Linked DNA regions of Homo sapiens: all the other regions are linked to region 6. Evidence: promoter capture Hi-C in 16 types of primary human blood cells and fetal thymus (Javierre and others, 2016). All regions are on one chromosome and are shown on one strand. The core of a region is centred on a gene start or on the middle of the fragment in contact, and the rest is flanking DNA. Distances in the headings are between cores, read along the strand shown.

What was found. Contacts are between HindIII fragments. The CHiCAGO score rates a contact against its expected background, and 5 or more counts as called.
Region 1: a contact is called between the fragment with the promoter of SFT2D3 here and the fragment with the promoter of PTPN18 in region 6, in 1 of 17 cell types (monocytes). The highest score is 9.8, in monocytes.
Region 2: a fragment that was not itself captured here is called in contact with the fragment with the promoter of PTPN18 in region 6 in 1 of 17 cell types (neutrophils); the score reaches 6.2 in neutrophils.
Region 3: a fragment that was not itself captured here is called in contact with the fragment with the promoter of PTPN18 in region 6 in 1 of 17 cell types (monocytes); the score reaches 5.5 in monocytes.
Region 4: a contact is called between the fragment with the promoter of MAP3K2 here and the fragment with the promoter of PTPN18 in region 6, in 1 of 17 cell types (neutrophils). The highest score is 7.6, in neutrophils.
Region 5: a fragment that was not itself captured here is called in contact with the fragment with the promoter of PTPN18 in region 6 in 2 of 17 cell types (neutrophils and monocytes); the score reaches 12.3 in neutrophils.
Region 7: a contact is called between a fragment that was not itself captured here and the fragment with the promoter of PTPN18 in region 6, in 3 of 17 cell types (monocytes, neutrophils and total B cells). The highest score is 7.1, in monocytes.

Annotation. Positions count from the first base shown.
Region 1 is chr2:127,699,531-127,702,926 of GRCh38, reverse strand. SFT2D3 (SFT2 domain containing 3) reads right to left here and starts at 1,430. Exons shown (of 1, transcript NM_032740.4): 1 at 1-1,430. The coding sequence starts at 1,398. The coding sequence ends at 751. WDR33 (WD repeat domain 33) reads left to right here. Exons shown (of 22, transcript NM_018383.5): 22 at 1-1,900. RefSeq lists a silencer at 672-1,351 and enhancers at 1,671-2,192, 2,112-2,481, 2,193-2,714, 1,709-2,908. The HindIII fragment of the contact is 7,289 bases long and covers 1-3,396 here.
Region 2 is chr2:127,469,465-127,472,877 of GRCh38, reverse strand. It overlaps the pseudogene RNU4-48P. Among named protein-coding and RNA genes, the nearest start is that of MIR4783, 48 kb to the right of the region's middle. The HindIII fragment of the contact is 1,373 bases long and covers 645-2,017 here.
Region 3 is chr2:127,530,605-127,533,945 of GRCh38, reverse strand. No RefSeq gene overlaps it. Among named protein-coding and RNA genes, the nearest start is that of MYO7B, 3.4 kb to the left of the region's middle. The HindIII fragment of the contact is 4,708 bases long and covers 1-3,341 here.
Region 4 is chr2:127,386,725-127,389,850 of GRCh38, reverse strand. It overlaps MAP3K2 (mitogen-activated protein kinase kinase kinase 2), which reads left to right and starts at 1,876. Exons shown (of 17, transcript NM_001371910.2): 1 at 1,876-2,399. It overlaps MAP3K2-DT (MAP3K2 divergent transcript), which reads right to left and starts at 2,413. Exons shown (of 4, transcript NR_187129.1): 1 at 2,299-2,413; 2 at 853-970; 3 at 666-740. RefSeq lists a silencer at 1,587-2,456. The HindIII fragment of the contact is 12,520 bases long and covers 1-3,126 here.
Region 5 is chr2:127,868,257-127,871,749 of GRCh38, reverse strand. AMMECR1L (AMMECR1 like) reads left to right here. Exons shown (of 8, transcript NM_001199140.2): 4 at 391-501; 5 at 822-936; 6 at 2,206-2,296. It also overlaps the pseudogene LOC107985803. Among named protein-coding and RNA genes, the nearest start is that of POLR2D, 12 kb to the right of the region's middle. The HindIII fragment of the contact is 9,720 bases long and covers 1-3,493 here.
Region 6 is chr2:130,354,653-130,357,823 of GRCh38, reverse strand. PTPN18 (protein tyrosine phosphatase non-receptor type 18) reads right to left here and starts at 1,768. Exons shown (of 15, transcript NM_014369.4): 1 at 1,624-1,768. The coding sequence starts at 1,716. RefSeq lists silencers at 1,329-1,378, 1,519-2,188. The HindIII fragment of the contact is 15,291 bases long and covers 1-3,171 here.
Region 7 is chr2:127,890,140-127,893,294 of GRCh38, reverse strand. LOC107985944 (a long non-coding RNA gene) reads right to left here. Exons shown (of 2, transcript XR_001739707.2): 2 at 1-1,079. Among named protein-coding and RNA genes, the nearest start is that of AMMECR1L, 5.8 kb to the right of the region's middle. The HindIII fragment of the contact is 1,590 bases long and covers 918-2,507 here.

The DNA of each region.
Region 1 (3,396 bases), core at 181-2,680, 2.7 Mb after region 6:
GTATTCCGGATCTAGAATTATCTTTCTATTTGCAGGATTTCCGAAGAGACCGTTAAGCATCTACGCGCCCCTTCCTGGATCCCATGCTTCTTGGGGCAGGAAATTTCTTTTGGTCCGTCGCTTTCGTCGTGAAATACACAACTAATTTTCCTTTCATGTTATAAGGCACCATATTTATGATTTTGTTAACTGAAGAAAAAACCCGAGATAAACCATCTTAAGTACTTTTAAAAGTCCAGTGGCTGAATTCGGTGTTTAATCTGATACCCTTCTGGATTCGCTGACACTGGAGAGAATAATTTCCAAGTCTTAGTATAGCCAAAACAAAAAACTACCGTCGCTAAGCTACATCTACCACTGGATTTTAAAATGACAAAACAGCCTGAGAAAAATCACAAGAGCAGCTAACTCGAAGAAAAATCCTTTTTCTTTACTCAGCCGAACCTAAGACCACAGTTACTTCGAAAGCAACTTCTAATAACCGTCTCACATCCTGTCACCAGTTCAATGACAAAATCTCAGTTTTCAGAGCGTGTGCCAAGTCCAGCACAAAAAGCTGACATCGAGGAGCTCCCAACGCTGCTGTCGCCTCCGCTGGCAGCAGCCGCTCCCGGATTAGACTCGCAGGCTGTTAGGGCAGGGCCTTCGCCACGGGCTTCCGCACAGCGGCGTGCAGTCCTCAGCTCGGCCGGCGCGGTCTCCGACGGCGCTGGCTCCGCGTACTTCCCCAGCGGCGAGGGCGCGAGGTCCTCACACGGGCAGCACCTTGGCGAGGCCGGCGCCGCGGCCCAGGCGACCCAGTGCGAGGCGCAGCGCGGTGCCGCCGCCCCAGGGCAGCAGCCCAACCAGCGCGGCCAGCAGCGCGGCCACCTGCGCGCCCGCGCCCAGCACCGTGAGCAGCGTGCTGCGAAGGCCCAGCGCGGCGAACAGCGTGGCGCCCAGCGCTGCCATGTAGAGCAGCGCGGGCCGGGACGGCGCTTCTTCGCAGCGCAGCAGGCGTCCGCACGCCGCGCCGCCCCGCAGCAGCGCGCTTCCCGCCAACGCCAGCGCCGAGCCCAGTGACCAGAGCAGCGCGAACTTGCGCGCGCGCAGCAGCAACACCGGTGCGTAGAGCGCGGCTAGGCCGAAACACAGTGCAGCCAGCAGCAGGCACCCGCCGCCCGCCGCCAGCCGCTGCCCGCGCGTCACGCTCGGGAGGCACGTCAGGCCGGCCGCTGCCGACTCCGCAGGGCTCCGCGCCCACGTCCAGCGCAAGCCCGCGCGGCCCAGCCACTCCTCCGCCGGCCGGTCCCCGGGCTCCTCCGCCTTCTCCGCGGCGAGCAGCGGCTCCGCGGCCGCCGGGCCGCCAGCTTTCCCCTGCGCCAGGTACTCCTGCAGCTGGCGGTGGAGGTCCGCCATCTTGGACAAGGCGGTGGCAGAAAGGAAAAGCTGCGGCTCACTTCCGGCCCTCCGCTGAAGCGGTTCGGTCTTCGGGCGGCAATTGGTCGGCGACGGCGAAAGGGGCAGGGCCTGCGGCGCTCGCGGAAGTGCCGCGGTGCCTGCTCTGCGGACTTTTGTGGTGTCCCCAAGTACCGTGGTCGCAGGTGCTGCCTGTCCGCTTGCAGTCGCCCTCCCAGCGCCTGACCCTCTTCCTTGTTCGGAGTAGGCGCCCTTGCGGTCTGGCTAAGTCCTGCCAGCATTAATAGTTGGAAGGCAGGGGTGGGTGTGGTTCTAAAGGGGCACAAGAAGTGACCCTTTTGCTGACGGAAATGTCTTATGGCCTCACTGCGTCTACCGTGGCGGTGATATTGTGCTAGTTTTGCAACATGGAGGAATGGGTAAAGGGTACACAGAATCTCTCTTGTTTCTTACAACTGAACACAAACAGTGATCTCAAAATAAAAATTTAATTTTTAAAAAAGTTCAGACCTGTGTAACTCAGGTGGGTTTTTTGGGGAAAGTTGCGTTCTGATTAGTTACCTCACTTGTAGTAATAGTGACCATCCTGATCATTTACCATGGGGTTGATAAAGGAAGGGTTGACACCCAGCACCCTCAACCTGCTTCTCTATTCTGTTCTCAGTTTCGGCCACAGGCCTGGCAACATCCTTGACTCCTTCGCGCCCCTTGTCCAAGACTCGGTGCTGCTGTCCCATGTGTTTGGTGTCACTCTCGTGCTCTGGACAGCGCCACGCCCAGGTGTCCTGACTCATCGTCACATCACTGTGACAAGCTGGCTCGCACGCAGGTCAATCCTGATCTGTTCCCAGGCCGCACCCACGTGCCCTGCTGTTTCTCAGAGCCTCCTAGAGGGTGTTTGCTTGTGGTTCCTCTCACAGGTCAGATTCCTCCAGATTCTTCCAGCTGCCTCCACAGCTCCCCTCACCACCTTGGCTTCCCCTGGGTGGCCCTGTGTCCTTTGTCCTCTGCCCTAGGTGGATGTAAGGTTAACGGCTTCCTGCTGTTTGGCTTCTCAGCCTTTCCATCCCCTGTGTGTAACTAATCTCCCCCATTAAGTTCCTTTTAATGCTTTCTGTTTTCTTGGTTGGATCCTGGCAGATGCAATTCTTTTTCAAAATATATTCTGATTTGTTATCTCACTTGATAATAATAGTGACCAGCCTGATCACTTAGCATGGGCTAAACCATTAGGATGGCTACAATCAAAACAAAAAAACAAAAACACACCAGAAAGTTACAAGTGCTGTCAAGGATGTGGAGAAACTAGAAGCCTTGTGCACCGTTGGTGGGAATGTAAAATGCTATATCCGCTGTGGAAAACAGTATGGAAGTTACTATAAAAAAAAAATATATATATATATATATACACACACACACACACAGACACATATAAACGTATATACACACATATTTGTATACAGTTATGTGTGTATGTGTGTATATAATTACAATCCAATCCAGCAGTTCCACTCTGGATATATACCCCAAAGAATTGAAAGCAGGGTCTCAGAGATTTGTATAACTCTTCACAGCAGAACTATTCATGTCAGTCAAGAGATGGAAGCAACCCAAGTGTCCACCAGCAGATCAATAAAATGTGATATATGCATACAACGGACTGTTACGCAGCCTTAAAAAGGAAGGAGATTCTGACACATGCTACGACATGGATGAACCTTGAGGACATTAGGCTGAGGGAAATAAGCCAGTCACAAAAAGGACCAATACTGCATGATTCCACTTCTGTGAGGTACTTAGAGTAGTCAAATACACAGAGCTAGAAAGTGGACTGGGTGCATAAATGCCCATCAGTGATGTTACCTAATCATTTATGCAGCTACCGTATAGAAAAGGCAGGAGTGTGCTGCTCATTTTATAGGTGAGGGAAGCTGAGAAATACCAAGAAGTGAGGTAACCTACTCAAGGTCACCTACAAAACTGACGATAGGGCAGCGT
Region 2 (3,413 bases), core at 82-2,581, 2.9 Mb after region 6:
AGTGGGCTGAAATCACACCACTGCACTCTAGCCTGGGTGACAGAGTGAGACCCTGTCTCAAAAAAAAGAAAGAAATCTTGGTTGACAGGTTTTTCTTTCATCACTTTAAATATATCATTCTATTGCCTTCTAACTGCAGAGTTTCTGCTTAGATTGTCCTGGCAGGGGTAGAGAGAGACTACTAGTAAAGTACTGTACAGTTTTTTGGAAGGCATTGGTAACCACTGTTTATAAACCAAGTCTTCCCCACCTGCCTGTGTACTGTTCCTCTCAGACAGGCAGAAATTATTGAATCAAACTCCATACTGTCTCTTTCTGTGATCTTCCCCTATTGCAGCAGCAGAAGTCCTCTGACGTAAGACTCCCCCTGGAGCAGGTAGAGTGTTGTTTGGAGTGATGTAGATGTCTATTACTTGTACATTAAAGGATTACAGAGATGTTTGGTAAGTCCAAAGGGGTAGGATTACCCAGTGTAGTCATGGGCTAGAAATGTTGCAAAAATACCTGAGCCAAGGTCTCAAGTTGGCTGACTTTGTACTATTAAGCTACAGACATGCACTTCATATGTTCATCAGTTTTTCAATTAGCAATAATCACTCCTTGAGTAAACCTCATTGGCTATGATACTGCCACTGCGCAAAGCTTGTTCATCAGTTTTTGAAGAAAATGGAGTATGTCACAGGATTACTTGCGTGCCTTGTTTTAAGCAAGCTCAACATATAAAAGTAATGGTTTCACCAAAACTTGAAGGTTATTGTTTGGTAAGAGATTCAGCAGAAGACTTTAAAAACATTTTTGTTACTTTAAAGAAGGACTCGAATTACAAAGTTTGAAGAAGCAACTAGTAAAAACACCACTCACTTTAGAAGAAGAGGGTTTAGGTCTGTTCTCCCAAAGACTGGTTCTTACAAAACCCAGGGTCCTGGGCCCAAAGGTTCTTTCTGTGTCATAACTGCTTAAAAATGCGAGAGGAGAGATTCAGGGTGTGTCAGTCCCAAGGACAGACAGCTAGATATCCTTTGGTTCTACTTGACCTGGGTAGCAGTGGGCGAGGCTTTAGGGAAAACACTTTGTAAATTTTATTATGATGGCATGTAAACACACAGGACTGGCAATAAAGTGACCTGGAGTTTGGTCTCCAGTATGAGAGGATCTCTTTTGGGCAAAGGATGATATTGCCACACAGTCAGGAGAGGGGATGAGCCTGATCTTTGAGTTTGCAGGGGGAGTGATTTATTTGTAATTCTTTATTTTATGATTTTTGTGCAAGAAGTTAAGTATTTTGGCTAGAGATAGCATGGAAATTGAGTGAGTTCCCCAGACCAGTTCTATGTAAGACCAGCAGAGAAGGTTAGGTCAGTGAGCACTGGTGTTTCGAAGGCTCTCCTGGAAGTCAATCAATGTAGTCATGAGCAGCAATTCCAAGCTGGCCTCTACTAAAAACCAGATCAGGGAAAAAGTAGGGCCCAGGTCAAAGAGACTGTGAGCTCCCTGGGGCAGGGACCAGGTCTGTCTGATTGTCTCTATTTGGCTTGTTGAACTGAACTAACATATAGCACTTGTCATTTGACACCGATTATAATTCTGTGAGATGATATTTGCATCTTAGATGAGGAAAATGTCCCATAGAGACCAAGATGCCTCCCATCTACAGAGTGGCTGAGTCAATTCAAGCTCAGGTCTCCTGATTCCAGATCCTGTGTGCCTTCCTGATCACCATATCAGCTAGATCTTTTCTATGTAGAGTATGCAATAGCTTTTATTCAGACTTTTCATTCCTTGGCTTTTATTTTCTGATCTTTCTTAATTATTGCTATTTTGTTTTTATCGAGGAAATCAGAGAGAAAGCTATGAGACAGTTAAAGCCTGTTAAGGGTTTATTGAGAATATAATGATATTCAATATGAAATAAAAATCAAATACACTAGAATTGCAGCATAATCATACCTTAGAGTTACTATAAGATTAAGTTGGAATCGAGTTGATCTTATAGTAATGAATTTTCTTTTTTAAAGCTTTTTAGAGCAAAACCTAATCAATCCCATAGCATGAGGGACAAAACCTATGTCAATCCCATAACATAAGTGGCATATAAGGAATATCCTGTGCATTTCTCTACAGAAAGGGAAAGGAAGCAGAACAGACTTTGTGCCTACCAGGTGTTGGGCCCAAGTTGTTGGGTCTTACTATGACCTTTACAAGTATTACCCTCAAGTTTTCCAACAAGTGGTCATCATTACCTTTCTATAAGTGGGAAAAATAGATTTAAAGTAAGTGGCTACCCAGAGTCACACAGTAAATAGCAAGCAATCCATGGATCTAAACTGAATTATTTCTGCCTCCAGTGCTCTCAGTTATGCTGTGGTGTTTTCTGGATGAAATACTAGGATTTAAATATATGCTTAGAGTTTTTGTGTCAAACCTTAAGTTGCTCTTGTACTTTGTTAAACTTGTACCATCTGAAATGAACACCTGTATCCATTCTCTTTCAGGTTTTGCTGTTACTGCTCAGTGTAGTCACACCTTGAATAAGAAATGGAAAACCTTGGGATGTTGATAAAGCTAATATCCTGAGGAAGAACTTCAGTGGGTCCCAGCTGAGTAGGAGATGGGATTCAACAGTACTGGTACGTAGTTAGGCAATAATCCTCCTCAGGCATCACATTCATTGATTTTTGTTGGGCCTGGGGATCCTGGGAAAAAGTTGGGAACTTTGTGCACTCTTGGCTTTGACTACTGACAGGTCTAATGTGCTGGAGTGGCCCAGGCGGAGGCCCACTTGCAGAGACTAATGGGAGCCTCAAGAGAAAATCTACCATAAGAAAAGGACCAGTCTGATAGCAAGCCCAGCTTCCCAAGAAGATAGAAGGTTGGAGGCAAGCTGCTGTCCAGGTATGTCCCAAACCAGCCAACTTGAAGGTAAGTTTGCTCCCTGGGGAGAGAAGGGCTCTAGGTGTGAACTAAAAGCTGTGTCCATAGACACTGTAACACTGGAGTTCAAAAAATGTTGCTGTGGAACGGCCCTTCTCATCCAAACCCAGACGGAATGTTCTCACCTGCCAAGAGTAGTGTCTTGTATTGAGGCACAGTGGTAGCTTTCTGGATCCACAGGCAAGGCCCTGTGGAGTCTCAGAATAATGATAAATCCTCTGGATGACCTAGGGGCTGGTGAGGTGAGTGGAGCACCCTACTGTGGTGTGTCTGTAGGACCACTGGAGCCTGATGCTGCCAAAGCATGACCTGACCAGCCCTGGCAACTGGTTTAGGATCATACAACCATGCACATGCCCCTAGGATTCCTAGAAATACTAAGGGGAAAAGGATTTTCCCGGAGCTGGGACATTCTACATTTGCACAGGTGAGAACTCAAACCATTGAGATTTAGATATTAATGTAAAACAACTTCATTTGTA
Region 3 (3,341 bases), core at 271-2,770, 2.8 Mb after region 6:
TTGGAGGGACTTGGGAACTGCAGGCAGAAATGTGGGAATGAGCCATCGTCTTTTAGAACTGAGGTCAAGGCAGGGTGGCAACCCTGAACATGGACCTTTCGTGGGGACACAGACCAAGCGGTGGTGGGAGAGAAAAGGAGAGGTGGACAAGCTGCAGAGGTGGAGACCCAGTGGCTCCAGAGACAGGAGGAGACCCCCGATGCCTCAGGGTTTCCTGTGCCTCCTGTGGGTGGGCTCCATGGAGTCCCCAGTTTCCGTCTATTAAATGTTCTCTTTGTTGACATGGCTTGAAGGAGTTTCTGTATCTTAAAACCAAATGGCCCATCCCAAAGACAGGGAACCAAGCTGGGAGATCCCTTGAAGGACCACTTGGAGGGAGCTGCATGTTCCGAGTCTTTCAGGCGGCCCCCTGTCCCGCCTGTTCCCCCTAGAACAGCCCCCCAAGTTCTGCCCTTGCTCTGACTAGCCTCCTGCTCCCTAAAATTTGGTTCGGTTTCTGGGTCCACACTCAGCCTTTTTGAGCTTCATGCTGCACATGGTTTCTCGGGTTTAGAAAGATACCATTTAGCTCCTCTAGGGCTGACGCTGCTGCTCCTGGCAGCTCCCAGAGATGGTGAACCCCTTGCTCTGGGGCTGAGACTGAGTCCTCTTCGGACCTTTTCTACTGCCCTCATGTAAGAAAATATTGGGACAGAAAATCTGTGTGGACCAAAACAATCTGTAAGATGTTCCCATCCAGTTCTCACCTTATGCAAAATTTGACAGAAACACATTTTAGATACTGACCTGCTATTCTCTGTCTCTCTCTATTTTATGTTACACATTATATCACAAGAACTTTCTGACACTGTACCAAACTTTTACCATTGGTCTTTAGAAACAGCGTGACAGTATGTCACACAAGTGCCCCATCATTTGTATACCCATCCTCCCTGGATGGACCCTGGGAGGTACCCAATCCTTTGCTGTCACACACAATACTGCAATGAACATATCTGTGCTCTCAGCGTTGTTTGCATTTTGTCATTATGGAAGATTCCAGTGGGATCTCTGGAAGAAGATCTTCCACTATGGAAGAACAGTGGGCATGAATTTTTGGTTGCTAATATTTCTCAAGTGGCATGCCAAGTCCTCCCTCCCAGTCAAAACTGCGCCTATGATTGCAAGGACCTGGTCTGATTGCTGTGTGAGTTGGTGCAAAGGGGGACACCCTGAGGCATGGTTCTCCTGGAGCCTCAGGCTTTCCATAGCCAAGGGACCCCAAGCCCTGGAAATCAAGAAGATGGGTTGGGGAAAGGCAGGGCAGGCTCTTCCTGGTAACACGGGCGACCAGGCTTGGCTGTCTCCCAGCCCAGTGCTACTTCCACAATTAGCGTAGTGCTCATTTCCCAAGACGCAAATATTCAGCTAACCTTGAAAAACATGTTTGTGAGCTGAGCTGAAATGCGCCCATGGACAACCTATGGTTCATTCCATTCCTGTCAGTGACCAAGCCCATTATAGCGTCATCACAGCGACTGACACAGAGCAAGCCTTTCGCTTCAGCTCTACCAGCATATCATAGAGCTAACTGAAGTCACTTGCTTATGGTGGCCCTAATATTCCCATCTAGGCTACAGCAGCCAAATTATCCATTAACCCTATGAAACAGCAAGGTTGGCAGCACAGACCTCTGCGACTGAACTACTCTTTAGAACATTTTTGAATTCTCAGTCTCAGAAAGAGCTGGCATGTGATAAGGATTTTCTCTGTGCTGGGCTCTTTGCTTGTACCATCTCACTCAACCCTCATCAAACCTCAACAAATGAGGGGTGCTTCTCCTCATTTCATAGCAAGGAAGTTAAAGTCAAAGAGGTTATGAAACTTGCTTAGGCCACACAACCAAAAGTGGCAGAGGTGCGGTTTGAATTAGGGTGTACCTGACCCCATGGCCTGGGCTTATTGGGATGTATTATACCACGCCAACCCTCAGACAAACCAGACCTCCTCCTTCCTCACCCCAGTGATGCATGAGACATCCTATCTTCAGAGATTTAAAAAAAAAAAAGGTGTTTCCCCAACTTGCTGGCCCTAGCCCAGGGTTTGAAAGGCCTTGCCCATTTTGTTGCCTTGGTTTCTGAGATGCTGGGGCAAGGGAATATCTGGGAAGAGAAGCAACGCTTAAATGCTTCCCTGGAAACACAGTTGTGCACAGTACAAGACAGTAGATCACAGGGCACATTCTGTCCTGTAGTTCAGGGTTTCTCAGTCTTGGCATTATTAGCGTTTTGGAGTAGATTGTTCTTTGTTGGGGAATGAGAGGCGTTGTCCTGTGTACTGCAGAACATTTAGCAGCAGCCATTGGTTATGTCCCCACCCCTAGTGGTGACAAATCAAAATGTCTTCAGATATTATTGCCAAATGTCTCTGGGGGACAAAGTCCCAGTTGGGAACCAATATATAGTTCACAGGCCCAGGTGCCATTGGAGGCTGGGAGAAAGAGGAGGCCAACAAAGACCAGAACGAATGTCCTCCCGGAAGAGGTGACCCTGACCCTTGGGCTCCTTCAATGGCAGGAAGATATGGCTCAGAGGGAGGGTGCATGGAAGATGAGTGCTTCCTGGAGGATCTTGGTTCTGACATGCCAAGGAGATGACTGTGTCATCAGGCAAACTCAAGTACTTCATCCTCCGGGAACAGCAGCTTCAAGATAGCTGCTCCTAGACTGGGAAGGTCTTGGATCCAAAGTCCTGATGGGCCAGCTAGGCATCCACAGTCTCAGCCCAGGAGGAAAGGACTCATTTCTGGTGGTGCTTTTGTCACCATAAGCCCTCTGAGGAAACTACCCAGAGATTTGTCCAAGGCAGCAAGAGGGGGAAAGTAGGGGCACAAAATGAAAAGGTCACCTCCTCCTCTCTAGAGGGCTTTGGGCAATCCAGTGGATAAATCTGTCTTAGGCCCTAGCATTTAAACCTAGGTCACTGGCCATAAACATGGGACCTCTGTCCCATGACCAGGGTTAATGGCATATCCTGATGACTAATCTTATTGCCCTGGGGGAGATTGAGATACTGACAAGGAAAAGCAAAACTTGCTTACGTGTCAACTCAATAAACTAAATAAATGAAGTTAATGATGCTAATTATGACGATAGTAATACTTTGCCTAGCTCTTGGAAGATAGTGATACTTTGCCTAGCTCTTAGGCTCATTGCTGAGAACTTTATTTCTGGGAAAAGAAGTACTGGGGTGGATTTCTTAACCTTGCCTGGAATGCTGCATATCCACCAAGATCACTTTCCTTTTCCTCTTGGTCCCACAGTGGACATACTCTTCCCTGCCTCACTCACAATTAGAAGGGGC
Region 4 (3,126 bases), core at 627-3,126, 3.0 Mb after region 6:
GTGCCTGATACACATCCCTCCCATGATGCAGGTCACAGTGTGTTATCATTATCCATTTACCTGTCTGCCTTCCTCACAGGATTCTGAGTTCCTGGGCAGTGGGGACTATATAATTTTATCACTGCAATCCCAGGCACAGAGTAGGAAGGCAAAAAAATATTCATTGAATGATGGTTTCATCAATAAAAAAATCCCAATATCACTAATTTGTAATCATATATACTAAAATAACCAAAGATGTCAGAGATTTAATATCTAAGCAAGAGGAAAAGTCACCAATATAAAAGGAGAATGGCGAAAAAGAAAGAATAGCTACTATAACTATACCCACGGGATGTTTCTGAGGAACCCAGAGGTGAATGAAGTCCCCGGGGTGGTAAGTGAGGGAAGGGAGTGGAGAAATGAGCAGCACTATGAGGGGAAAAAATTTATCTCTAGATTACTTAGTAAACAAACACGTTTTTATTGAATGCCTGCTATGTGGTGACCCAGTAACTGTGGAGAACAATATAGATATTTAAGATTTAAATACTATCCTCCGGCGTTCTGAGACCCTCCTTTCTGTGGCATACAGGTCTTAGAATGTTAGATTCAAGAAGGTCTTAGATTTATGCATAAGTCCCCCATTTTTTAAACAAATAGAAGCAAACTGATTTTCCACTGACCTCTGTGTTTCTGAGGTGCACATCCTTGTTCCTGTGACTTTGACACCTCTGTTAATGGGTCTGTAATAAAAATTCCTGGAAGAAACCCAGAGATATTTTGACATTACACAACAGTTTCTCCCTCAGTCTCTGCCCCACAAGTGCCAGCTCCCTTGACCCTCAGAGCCCAAGTTGGGTAGCTCCTTACCTCTGGTTCGGGTGAGTCCCATTCCCATCTCTCTCATTTCAACTGCTCCAGTGGAAATGTGGTCTGGAATATGCATGAAAGGGGTGGATCCAGAATGTACGAAGAAACCAAGAAGAAGCTGAACAGGGAAGAATGGTACAGGAAGTTGTAAGGGGTATTTAAGGAAAGGAGAAGAGATGGGGCGGAAAGGTGCTTTCTGGATCAAAGTAGGGTGAAAACGTCGGGATGCAGGTTAGTCACACCACGGAGGGCCTCACCACTAGTCTGATTAATTTGCATTTTATCCTGTGGGAGATGAGGAGCGAAAGAAAGGGTTTTAGACTCTAGCTTTGGGGGTGGGGTGTCAACTCATGTCTCTGGGCTTAAGTTTCCACATCTGTTAAGCTGGAGAAGTAATACTTGCTGGGCTAACCAATGTACACAACCAGTCATAACCAAGTATCGATGGTGATAAGAACTAAACAGAAAACACAAATAACACTTAGCCAGTCTCCAAGGGGGTGGTTTAAGGTTAGGTGGCAAGCCTGAAGTAATTTCTAAAGTCCCTCAGGAAAAAAATTCTGAAACTTGAGCCACAAATTAAGAGGCAGACGGCTTTTCTCCTTGCAAATGACCTGCCACACAGTCCGTCACTGCCTCTGCTAGCTCTGCTACCCTTGGGCCCTGTCCACAGCCCACGTGGGAGACCTTTTCACGGGATCTACTCGGATGTCTGGGATCTGGCCACTACCGCAGGCTCGAGACAACCCAGGTGCGTATGCGCCGCGCACACGGAACAGCACAGGCTGCCCCGGGGCAGGGGCGGGGGCGGGGCCGAGGCCGGGGCGGAGCCAGGACTGGGAATCCCCGCGCCGTCCGGCCGGTGGGGGCGGTGGCCTGTGTGTGGGCGTGGCGGGCCTCTGCGCAGGCGCCGACCCACTCCCCTGGGCCGGGCGCGCGCCCGCGGCGGGTTCCGCTACCGCCGGGCGGAGGGGTGCGCGCGCACGAGCGAGCGGCCGTGACGTGCGCCGCGCTACGCCCGACGTCACGGGTCCGTGTGTAGTGGCTGCCGGGCTGCCTGCCCTCAGCGGCGGCGCCTGACGAGGGTGCCGCGGCCGCTGGGCGCAGCGTTCGGGGGTTGCACGGCCCGCGGCGGCGACGAAAACAACGACCAGGACGCTCGGCGCCCCTGTCCGCAGAGTCGCCACTCCCGCCTCTTCTCCGGTCTCTAGCGACGCGGGCCCGCGGCTTCCTCCTTTCCTGCCCAGTTCCCGCGGGCCTCGGGGTTGCAGCGGCTAGAAGTGCCGAGGAGCGCCAGGAGGACCCGGCCGGCTGCGAGGATTCACGCGCCCGCCACCCCGCCCGGCCCGGGCTTCATGTGAAAGAGGGACGGGCCTGGCCCCAAGGCCCGCGCCCGACTCCTCGCGCGCCCCTCCGGTCCCCGGGGGCCCTGCGGCAGCCCCCGACCTGGGGCCGCGGTGACAGGCCGCGCTGGGGCGGAGGGGCGGGCTCGGCGGGGGCGGCCCCTCCTTGGGCCTGCGGCTCTCTACGTCCCTGCGGAGCAGCCGGTACGTGCGTGTGTGCGTGCGCGCGCGCTTGTGTGTGTGTGTGTGTGTGTGTGCGCGCGTGTGTGTCGGGGGCCGCGGGCTGGGCGCCGGGAGGGGGGCTGGCGGCGGCCTAAGCGCCGCTCCAGGGGCGGAGATTTCGCTGGGTGATTGCCTAGCTGCGGGAGGGCGGACCTTGGGCCCCCTGCATCCAGTCCTAAAGCCCAGGTCAGCGCGAAGTAGGCTGCTGGGCTGTGTTAGCTGTCAGACACGTACCCTGCAGAGATTTTAGAAGAAAGGTTGCATCTGGTCTTGGGATGAAGCAGAAATGGTACATGCAGTAAGCGAAAAAGTGCTTGTCTTTGCACTGTCACAGTGTGGTAATCTTTTGATGTAAGGTTGTTTCCCCCTTTTCTCTTTACGGAATATTTAGGTAGCACTTAGGGTGCTCTTAGTCTGCGCCCGGCAGTTGTCATGCATTATCTCTCTTCATCTTCCCAGCTCAATGAGGTGGGTAAATTGCCCCATTTTGCAGGTGAAAACTTGAGGCTCAGAGAGATTAAGGCATTTGTCCAAGGTCATGAAGGTAGTAATCCAGGAAGGCTTGGTTCGAATATGCAGATGTCTTTTTGTAAGACTGTATTTCTCGTCTTGCAAAAAATAAATACGTTTAGAAAATGAGACTAACTGGGCAGTTTCTTTAATGGGATAAATTCTAAACACATAGACAGATACAGTTTAGTTTTCCCTA
Region 5 (3,493 bases), core at 356-2,855, 2.5 Mb after region 6:
CATCATGAAAGACGGAGCGGGGGAGCATGGCTACCTGGATAAATAGACTTAGGGAAGAGGAAACTGGAGAATTCGAAGGAAAAGTTGAGTCTTGGGCAGAGAAAGAGGAAAGTAGCATGTAAATTTGGCGGCAAAGTGAATTAAAGCTGTCAGCATGGAACATGGGAACCACTACACGGAGCCTTTCCTTATGCTGCCTTGTAGGTTTCCCGTTTCCAGCCAGGGGCTGTGCCGTTTTCAGAAAGGCAGAGAGTCCTTCGGGTAGCTGGCAAGTCCAAAAACAGGGATTTTTGGCAATAACAGAAATGAATAGGGACAAAGCCAAAAGGTTTTGTTCTTATCCATGATTAATTTGGGGCTGGAGAATGTTTTGTGTTTTGCTTTTTTTAGTCCGCTCTTTGTGACGTGGAAGACAGGGCGGGACAAGCGGCTTCGTGGCTGCATTGGGACCTTCTCAGCCATGAATCTTCATTCAGGACTCAGGGAATACACGTTAACCAGGTAATGACACCAGACATTAAGAACTGTAGATAAATTGGCTAGAATCAGAAATAGCTGCCTGACTTTATTTCTTCTAAGTGATGTACGTTGAGCTTTCTCTTTTTGGTAATCAGGAAATGTAAGGGGCTTAATCTGGTGAGTCAGTTATCAGTTCAAGTACAGACAGTTAATAGCATCGAGTTGTTTTTAACATGTTAGTGTTGATGAACAATAGATACTCTCTGCATAGCTCAAGATTCATAAATATGTGGGCTCTATGGCACCTGATATTGGCTCCTGACTCCAGAGCAGCCTTACCTATGTTTTCTGTCCCCCTCCAGTGCACTTAAGGACAGCCGATTTCCCCCCCTGACCCGAGAGGAGCTGCCTAAACTTTTCTGCTCTGTCTCCCTCCTTACTAACTTTGAGGATGCCAGTGATTACCTGGACTGGGAGGTGAGAACAGCCGCATTTGGAACTCTGCATCTCTCGTTGCATTTGGGTTCGGGTTAGTACATGGCAATGTATCTCCTTCATTGAGAGAAAGGGTATAAGAATGTGAAGGCTGAGTTTGGAACCAATTGTGGGCAACATAGGTGACAGAAGAGGTGCTGCTATACCAGGAGTAGGCAGAAGTGTCAGTGGAAAGGCTCGCTTCTCCTGATTCTCCCTAGTCTGCTTGGTTTACATCCTTCTCCCATGTCTAATAAGAGATAATGGGGTAAAAGAAAATATTCCAGATCCTTCTTGGCAAGCCCTGGAGTAAAAGTTTTTGTTTGCTTGTTTTTTTTTTTGAGATGGAATTTCGTTCTTGTTCCCCAGGCTGGAGTGCAGTGACGTGATCTCGGCTTACTGCAACCTCTGCCTCCCGAGTTCAAGGGATTCTCCTGCCTCAGTGTCCCAAGTAGCTGGGATTACAGGTGCCCACCACCATGCCCAGCTATTTTTTTTTTTTTTGAGACAGAGTCTCGCTCTGTCGCCAGGCTGGAGTGCAGTGGTGCAATCTCAGCTCACTGCAACCTCCACCCCTGGGTTCAAGTGATTCTTCTGCCTCAGCTTCCTGAGTAGCTGGGACTACAGTCGCGTGCCACCACACCCAGCTAATTTTTGTATTTTTAGTAGAGATGGGGTTTCACCGTGTTAGCCAGGATGGTCTCAATCTCTTGACCTCGTGATCCACCTGCCTTGGACTCCCAAAGTGCTGGGATTATAGGCGTGAGCCACCATGCCCAGCCATTTGTATTTTTTTAGTAGAGACAGGGTTTCACCATGTTGGCCAGCCTGGTCTCAAACTCCTGACGGCCTTGGCCTCCCAAATTGTTGGGATTACAGGCATGAGCCACCGCGCCTGGCCAAATAAAAGTTTTTATTAGGAATCAGATGTGAAGGATCATGACCCCAGATAAAAACCTTGTGGCATGTTTATTTAATGGAATAGGGTCAAGGAACATATTCACAATTCCTGGATGAATTACTTAAAGAATGCATTTCTCCTACCTTCATATTCTCAGAGTTGGCTGCACATACTCTCGACCCTTCCCTAAAAGCAGAACTTTCTTTGGCCTCTATACCTCCTGAGATAGAATTAGTCATGAAATGCGAGAAGGTCTCCCTTTTCCAGGCCTGTGTTAAGCTGGTCAGGGAACAATGTTGATTTATATGTGGGGACTGAAGTTCCATTAGAGTAAGTAAATGCCATTTACTTGGTTGTACTTTTTTCTATAGGTAGGGGTCCATGGGATTCGAATTGAATTCATTAATGAAAAAGGTGTCAAACGCACAGCCACATATTTACCTGAGGTTGCTAAGGAACAAGGTGAGTTGGATGAATGGGATTTTAATGACAAGTATCATTCACAGTGGTGCCAGTTAAAGGGCAAGAAAGTGAAGTGTGTCATCTTGCAGCCCAACTGCAGCTGAGAATGAGGGCCTTTCTGCCTCTTAATACCTGTCAAATTCCTATAGAACCAAGGGTAAACTTCCAAAAAGGTTTAGGAGCTGGGAAAAGCAAAAGGGTAAATCGTTCACTTACTCGCCTGATATTTCAAACACTTCTTTTCAATGAATAGTTTTATTTCTTAGCCCCTTAAACTACAGTGGCAATTGTAGCAAAATACCACCAATCAACCTGACCATATTGTAGAATTCAGTAGGTACCGAACTTTGGATCACAAATCATTAAACAATATTATACATGGCAAAGGGTGTAAACATAGTCCCTACTGTTTTTTAAAGAACTCAGTAGTCGGCCAGGCGTGGTGGCTTACTCCTATAATCCCAGCATTTTGGGAGGCCAAGGTGGGCGGATCACAAGGTCAAGAGATTGAGACCATCCTGGCCAGCATGGTGAAACCCCGTCTCTACTAAAAATATAAAAATTAGCTGGGCATGGTGGTGCATGCCTGTAGACCCAGCTACTCAGGAGGCTGAGGCAGGAGAATCACTTGAACCCAGGAGGCAGAGGTTGCAGTGAGCCAAGATCGTGCCATTACACTCCAGCCTGGTGACAGAGCGAGCCTCCATCTCCAAAAAAAAAAAAACTCAGTAGCCTATAAGTTCTTCTGATGGGGACGTTAAAGGTAGGGTGGATCGAGCAGATTTTGTCTTTAAAAGAATATCTAGAAGGGTACCTTTACATGTTGCTTGTGCATTCTGTGATACGTAGTGCAGTTTTCCTTCTTTCTTGGAATTAGTCTGATTTTGAAAATAATATGTGAAACACAGTATTTGTTGGGTATGAGCCTAGAATAGAGAAAAAATACCCGGTGAAGTGTATATCATGAGCAAACATGGAAAACGATTGCCTGGTTGGTTTTTATTTTGCTTGTGCTTAAACTTTTTCAAGAGCAGTGTATATGTGGCATAATAGCAAACCTTTTAGCCACCTCTTTTAGGTCATAAACCTAACACACTCTGTACAAGGAGGCATACCATGTTTTGTAATGGGGAGGTGTAAATAATAACTTAAGTAAATAATTAAATTACTTTTGCCATTTGAAAGTTGGTTGGAAAA
Region 6 (3,171 bases), core at 519-3,018:
ACTGCAGTGGCGCGATCTCGGCTCACTGCAAGCTCCGCCTCCCGGGTTCACGCCATTCTCCTGCCTCAGCCACCCGAGTAGCTGGGACTACAGGCGCCCGCCACCACGCCCAGCTAATTTTTTGTGTGTTTAGTAGAGACGGGGTTTCACCGTGTTAGCCAGGATGGTGTGGATCTCCTGACCTCGTGATCCGCCCGCCTCGGCCTCCCAAAGTGCTGGGATTATAGGCGTGAGCCACCGTGCCCGGCCATCTGTTACATATTTTATATCTACTTATGAATTTATCAAATAACTTTGGTCATTTTATAAATTATAATCTTTGTTATATTCATTTGTTGTATTGTTTTATGCAGTTATGCAATGTTTATTGTATAAACGGTCATTTATAATACTTTTATATATTTGTCATATTTCTAAACTTGATACATGTCACCATATATCAGTTTATGCGTTTGTATGGTATGTTTCTATGTCTGGTACATAAGCGATTACACTTTAAACACGTCATCAACTGTAATGTACAGTGCCTAGCATTCTGCGTGAGCCTTCCTAATGCTGGGCTTGCACTACCTGTATTGTAACGTTTAGATTTTTTGTTTGGTTTTGTTTTGTTTGAGATGGGATCTCACTCTGTGGCCCAGGCTGGAGTGCAGTGGCACCATCTCAGCTGTGCAGTGGAACCATCTCAGCTCACTGCAACCTCTGCCTCCCAGGTTCAAGCGAGTCCCCTGTCTCTGCTCCCTAGTAGCTGGGATTACAGGCATGCGCCCATGCCCAGTTGATTTTTGTATTTTTAGTAGAGACGGGGTTTCGCTGTGTTGCCCAGGCTGGTCTCGAACTCCTGAGCTCAAGCGATCCTCCCACCTCGGCCTCCCAAAGTGCTGGGATTACAGGTGTGAGCCACCGCACCTGGCCCACGTTTAGAATCTTTATAGGCAGTGACGAACGCCCCTACGAAGTGTGCGCCCAATATGTACTAAGTGCTTTTCACCCACATCATTTAATCCTTAGACCAGTTTGGTCATTCATGTCCCCATTTCACCAAGGGAGAAGCCGAGGTCAGAGGGGCCAGGTAGACCGCCTGGACCACACGCGGATGGCCGGGACGCGGATTCGGGACGGGAAGCGGATTCGGGCCCGGACGCGGATTCGAGCCCGGCGTTCACACCCTCACCACGCCACAGCCTCCGTGTTCCTCTTCGCCCTGCTGCAGCCCCTTCCTTCCTGTGGTCACAGGGGACAGTCAGGTCGCCAGAAGCGGCGGGGCCGGGGCTGTCCAGCGCAGCAGGGCCGCCCGCCCTCCCCTGCGGCGCCCGCCCCACCTGTCCCGCCCGCAGCCAGGTTGTTCCGGGAGCGCGACGAGGACACCGGGAACGAGGGTGTGCACGGTCCGTCCCGGCCTGGCCGTGGACGTCGCGCTCCGGGGCCGGGGGGCAGAGAGTGAAGACGGAGACAGCAAGAGCGACAGAGAAGTGCTGGGGAGAGAAACACGGAGAGACCCCCCGAGGCGGGGAGACACCGGGGACACCGAGACAGAAAGGCAGAGCCCGCCGTGCGCGGAGGACAGGCGTACGCAGGGCCAGGGCCGGGGCGCGCCGCTCGCGGACCCCGTGTGCCACTCACGCTGAACTCGCCGGCGAGGACTGCCCCCTCCCGGCCGCCCCGCGCTTCCAGCCGCTCCAGGAAGCTCCGCGCCGAGTCCAGGCTGCGGCTCATGGCGCCGCGGGCCAGCAAGGTCCAGCCCGGCCGCCGCGCGCGCGGCGAGTGTGGACGCCGCGGGAGGCGGAGGCCGGTGACTGAGTCCCCGCCCTTGCCTCGGCAGCCAATGGAAGCGCGCAGCGGCGGGCAGGGCGCCCCAGCCACCGTGTTCTGAGCCCGCGTAGCCCCACCCCGGGCGCTCGGGCCGCTGTGGCCGGAGCCCTAGGTCCTCGCGGGCTGCCCTGAGCAGAGTCCAGCGCCGGCGCTTCCCCTTTTTTTCGGCTGCCGCGCCCACTGGTGGGGGGGTGGCACGGTCCCAGGTTCGCTCCCTGCCGCTTGGGACCCGCCCTCAGATCGGGATCCGCGCCCAGGGGCCGACCTCCGGGTGCCGGCTCTGGGTGGACGGCCGAGCGGTCTCGCCGGGCCCTCCCGCCCGTCCCCTGGGAGCCAGGCCGCGCGGAGTCCGAGCTGGGGCGGGCAGCAGCCTTGGGTGGAGACGGTCGCCGAGATCAGGCTGCCCCTCGTGCCAGAGGACCCCGGGTCGGGGGCGTCCCGCGCTGTGCGCTCCAGCCGGGCCCAAGGGAGGCCGGGGAGGGGCAGCCACGCCGTGGGAAAGGCCAAGTGGCAGCGGGATCTTCTCTGTGTATTTCCCGAGGAATTTGTGGTTCCTTTTTCCCGGATGCGCTGGGGCACCAGGGTCAGTCCTGTGTGAGCATCTCGACCTGCACAAGCCTGCTGGGAAACAGAACTGAGGCACTGGAAGTGGGTTCTGGGGAACGAAGAGCTTCTCTTTTTTGCCTGCCCTGACACTCCCATCTTCAGAAAGTGTGCAGAGGTCAGAGGAGAGCCGCCGTTCCAGCTTCCGGGATCACCGAGGGGAGGCTGGAGAGAATGGACTGGCACCTGGGTCTCTTCAAGGACAGGCCTAGGTTAGCCCCCTTCTCGCCGAGGTCGGAAGAATTAAGAGGGGTGTCACTGGAAGGGGCGTCAGTGGACACCAGTTTGAGGTCGTTGAGGGGTTGAAAGGTAGCATTGGGGCCTGGATGTGTGCCTGAGTCTCTGAAGGGTCAACAGGGGCATGATGTCAGGTGGTCAATTTAATTCACTAGGGGCTATCAGAGTATTTAAGGGCACACTTTCTTAAAGGTCCCGGTAGGAAGTGGTTTTGGCTTTGCTATCGCTGCCCCAGCTGCTTAACTCAGCTGTGGCAGCATGAAAGCAGACAATATAGTGTGGCTGTGTCCCAAAGAAACCATTTATGGACAAAGAAATCAGAATTTCATGTAATGTTCATGTGTCATGAATTATTCTAGTGTGTGTGTGTGGCCTACAGGCTGTCGTTTGCTGACCTTGGCTGAAGTGATGGAGCGATCAAAGTGGCTCTGTGGGGATCAGCAGCTAGGGCTGTTTGATTTATCGTGGGGTCCGCAGGGGTCACTGTGAGATTCATGTTCATCATTTATCAGTTTCATC
Region 7 (3,155 bases), core at 463-2,962, 2.5 Mb after region 6:
CTGAGTCAAAAATACCTCTGTGCTTAGAGGCTAGAAAAACCCGATTCATTCCCGGCGCAAACGGGACGACAGACCCAGGGCTGCATCACATGCCTGTGCTCTCCTGCCCTGCTCCGGGCGGACATGCCCTGTCCCCAGTGCTCTCCCGGGCCTTGCTTCCTATGGCTGGTGTTGGTCAGAAGAAAGACGTGTGTGGACTGGGATGTCTGGGCTTTCTGTTTCTCCACAGAAATGTATGCCAGGGTTCTAAGGCTCTACAGCTTAGGAACTCAATTTCTCCAGAAGTTAAGATCGCTGCCCTAAGAAGAAAATATTCCTGACATGTTCAGCCCATGGAATTCACCCATTTATTCACTCTTAGTCGAACAGCCTTGCTGTAGATCCATGGAGCTTCCCACTCTGACGTGTCCCACATGCATGGTGTGGTAGGAAAGCCTTCACGTATTTTTTTTTTTTTTTTTTTTGGAGATGGAGTCTCACTCTGTCGCCAGGCTGGAGTGCAGTGGCATGATCCCAGCTCACTGCAACCTCAGCCTCCTGGGTTCAAGTGATTCTCCTGCCTCAGCCTCCCGAGTAGCTGGGATTACAGGCATGTGCCACCACACTCAGCTAATTTTGTATTTTTAGTAGAGCCGAGGTTTCACCATGTTGGCCAGGCTGGTCTCGAACTCAGGTGATCTGCCCGCCTTGGCCTCCCAAAGTGTTGGGATTACAGACATGGGCCACCGTGCCCCACCAGCCTTCATGTATTCTGATGGGCGGGGGGAGACAGTGGGACCAGTGAGCCAGGAGTCCTGAGGCCACCAGGCAAACTTGGTGTCACCCTCAAGTCATTGGATGGTTTCTCTTTCTCTGTGTCTGTTCAGTGATTTCCATTCAAATGGTTACTCTGTGTTGCCTCCAGAAGCCTCAAAGCTTAGTGTGGCTGTCCTCTATATGCATCATGTCCATGCCTGCAGTTTGTACCTCTCACAGCCTCTTCCTTCTGGGTCCCAGGTCCTTGCTCTTCTTCTGGGGTTAGATGTCAATTGTTTATTCGGTCTCATCGTTGCCCCATCGCGTCTGCACATCAAGGCCTCCTACCAAAAAAGTGAGGGAGAATAAAACAGTCTTTTGTTCTCATTTGTTTCCTTCTCTGAACTTAAAACTCACTATATTGAGAGTCCTTGCAACATGTGTTGCAGGAGTCTACAACTACATTTCCCAGATACTCTCACCACTTGAGTTCCTTTTAGATTCCGCCAGTGGGAGGTGCTGGGGAAAGACCAGACGGTAGAAGGAGAAAAAAAAAAGACATCTCCTCCTGATTTCAGCAACGATGGCACCCCTCCAGCAAGTGCAGGAAGTTCCAGCTCCCCACTTCTCAGGCTCTTTGACACCGGCCCAAGGGCACCCCTTAAGAGTTCTCAGCAGCAGCCCCATGGTGACCTGTCCTCCCAAGCTCCCGGGTGCTAGTAATGCTAATTCTTCCTTTTTGTTCTCTCAGCCCTAAGGGTGCTAGCTCCTTCCTACAGTTGCTCATTTTTGGGTTACCTCAACATCTGCTTCATTCTTTTAGCCTTCTAACCATGTGACCAAAAATCTCCTTTTGTTTGCAATGCCTGGTGTGGTTTTTCTTTCCTGAACCCTAACTGATACAGTACTTGGAATCAGAATTAGAGTTTATTTAAAACCTTCTGGAACACATACGATTTTCAGATGAATCTAAGGTACTTACCACTTCCTGCTCATTGGGTCCATTCAACAACATGGCACCAATGTAATGAATCAATGTGATATTCTGTGGGATGTCAGGAGGCTTAAAGTCTCTGCAGGTAAGATTATGGTGGACAGAAGGGTATGTAGCATAGCCCTGAGGCTAGACAAAGTGCATTGCTATCTCTGAAATAACTCCTTGTAGACTGGACCCTGGTAGATACAAGTATCTTTATTTATTTACTTATTTTTATAGAGACAGTGTCTCACTATGTTGTCCAGGCTAGTCTCAAGCTCCTGGCCTCAAGCAATCCTCCCGCCTCAACCTCCCAAAGTGCTGGGATTACAGGCATGAGCCACCATGCTAGGCTCAACATCTTTTTTTTTTTTTTTTTGAGACGGAATTTCGCTCTCTCGCCCAGGCTGGAGTGAAGGGGCGCAATCTTGGCTCACCGCAACCTTGGCCCCCTGGGTTCAAGCGATTCTCTTGCCTCAGCCTCCCAAGCAGCTGGGATTACAGGCATGGGCCACCATGCCTGGCTAATTTTTGTATTTTTAGTAGAGATGGCATTTTGCCATGTTGGCCAGGCTGGTCTTGACTCCTGACCTCAGGTGATATACCCGTCTCGACCTCCCAAAGTGCTAGGATTACAGGCGTGAGCCACCGCGCCCAGCCTTGGCCCAACATCTTTAATCATGAAAATCTGAGAGTGAGCTACATTTAGTGTGCATGAAGGAACCATATTTTTCCTACCTTCCATCTCAATCCCCTCACTGAGGTTGTAAAACAACAGGAGATCTTGTAAAAAGCTTAAATCTCTAGATTCAGGGAAGAGAACAAGATTGCTTTAAAAATAATGCCGGACAAACAAATTGTGGCATATTGTTCAATGTGTATTGAATGGCATAGTATTCTGTGCATCAAAGAAAAAGAATGAACTATAGTTGCACATAAGCAAAGGGATGAATTTCCTGGACATAATGTTGAACGAAACAGACCAGACCCAAAGGAGTATGTACTGGATGAGTCGATTTGAATGTCCGTGAATTCAAGAGCAGGCAAAACTATCCCACAGTGATAGAAGTCAAAATAATGGGTATCTTTTGGAGGGGATTAGGAACGGGGAGAAGGCACAAGAGAACCTTCTGAGCTGCTAGAAATATTCCACATCTTAAATTGGATGATGGTTACATGGATGGACACTAATGTAAGAATTGGTCAAGCTGTATACTTGAGCTGTGTGAATTCTAAACATGTATGTCCTCTCTCAATAAAAAAGCAATATAAAATGCTTGGTTACAGAGTAGCCATTTAGAGAGTATTTGTAGAATAAATGAATACGTGACTTGAGCTCTCCAACTCTGTTGCATTTATTTCATTGGTAGTACTAGTTTTTTTTTTTTTTTTTTTTTTTGAGACAGAGTCTGGCTCTGTTGCCCAGGCTGGGGTGCAGTGGCGT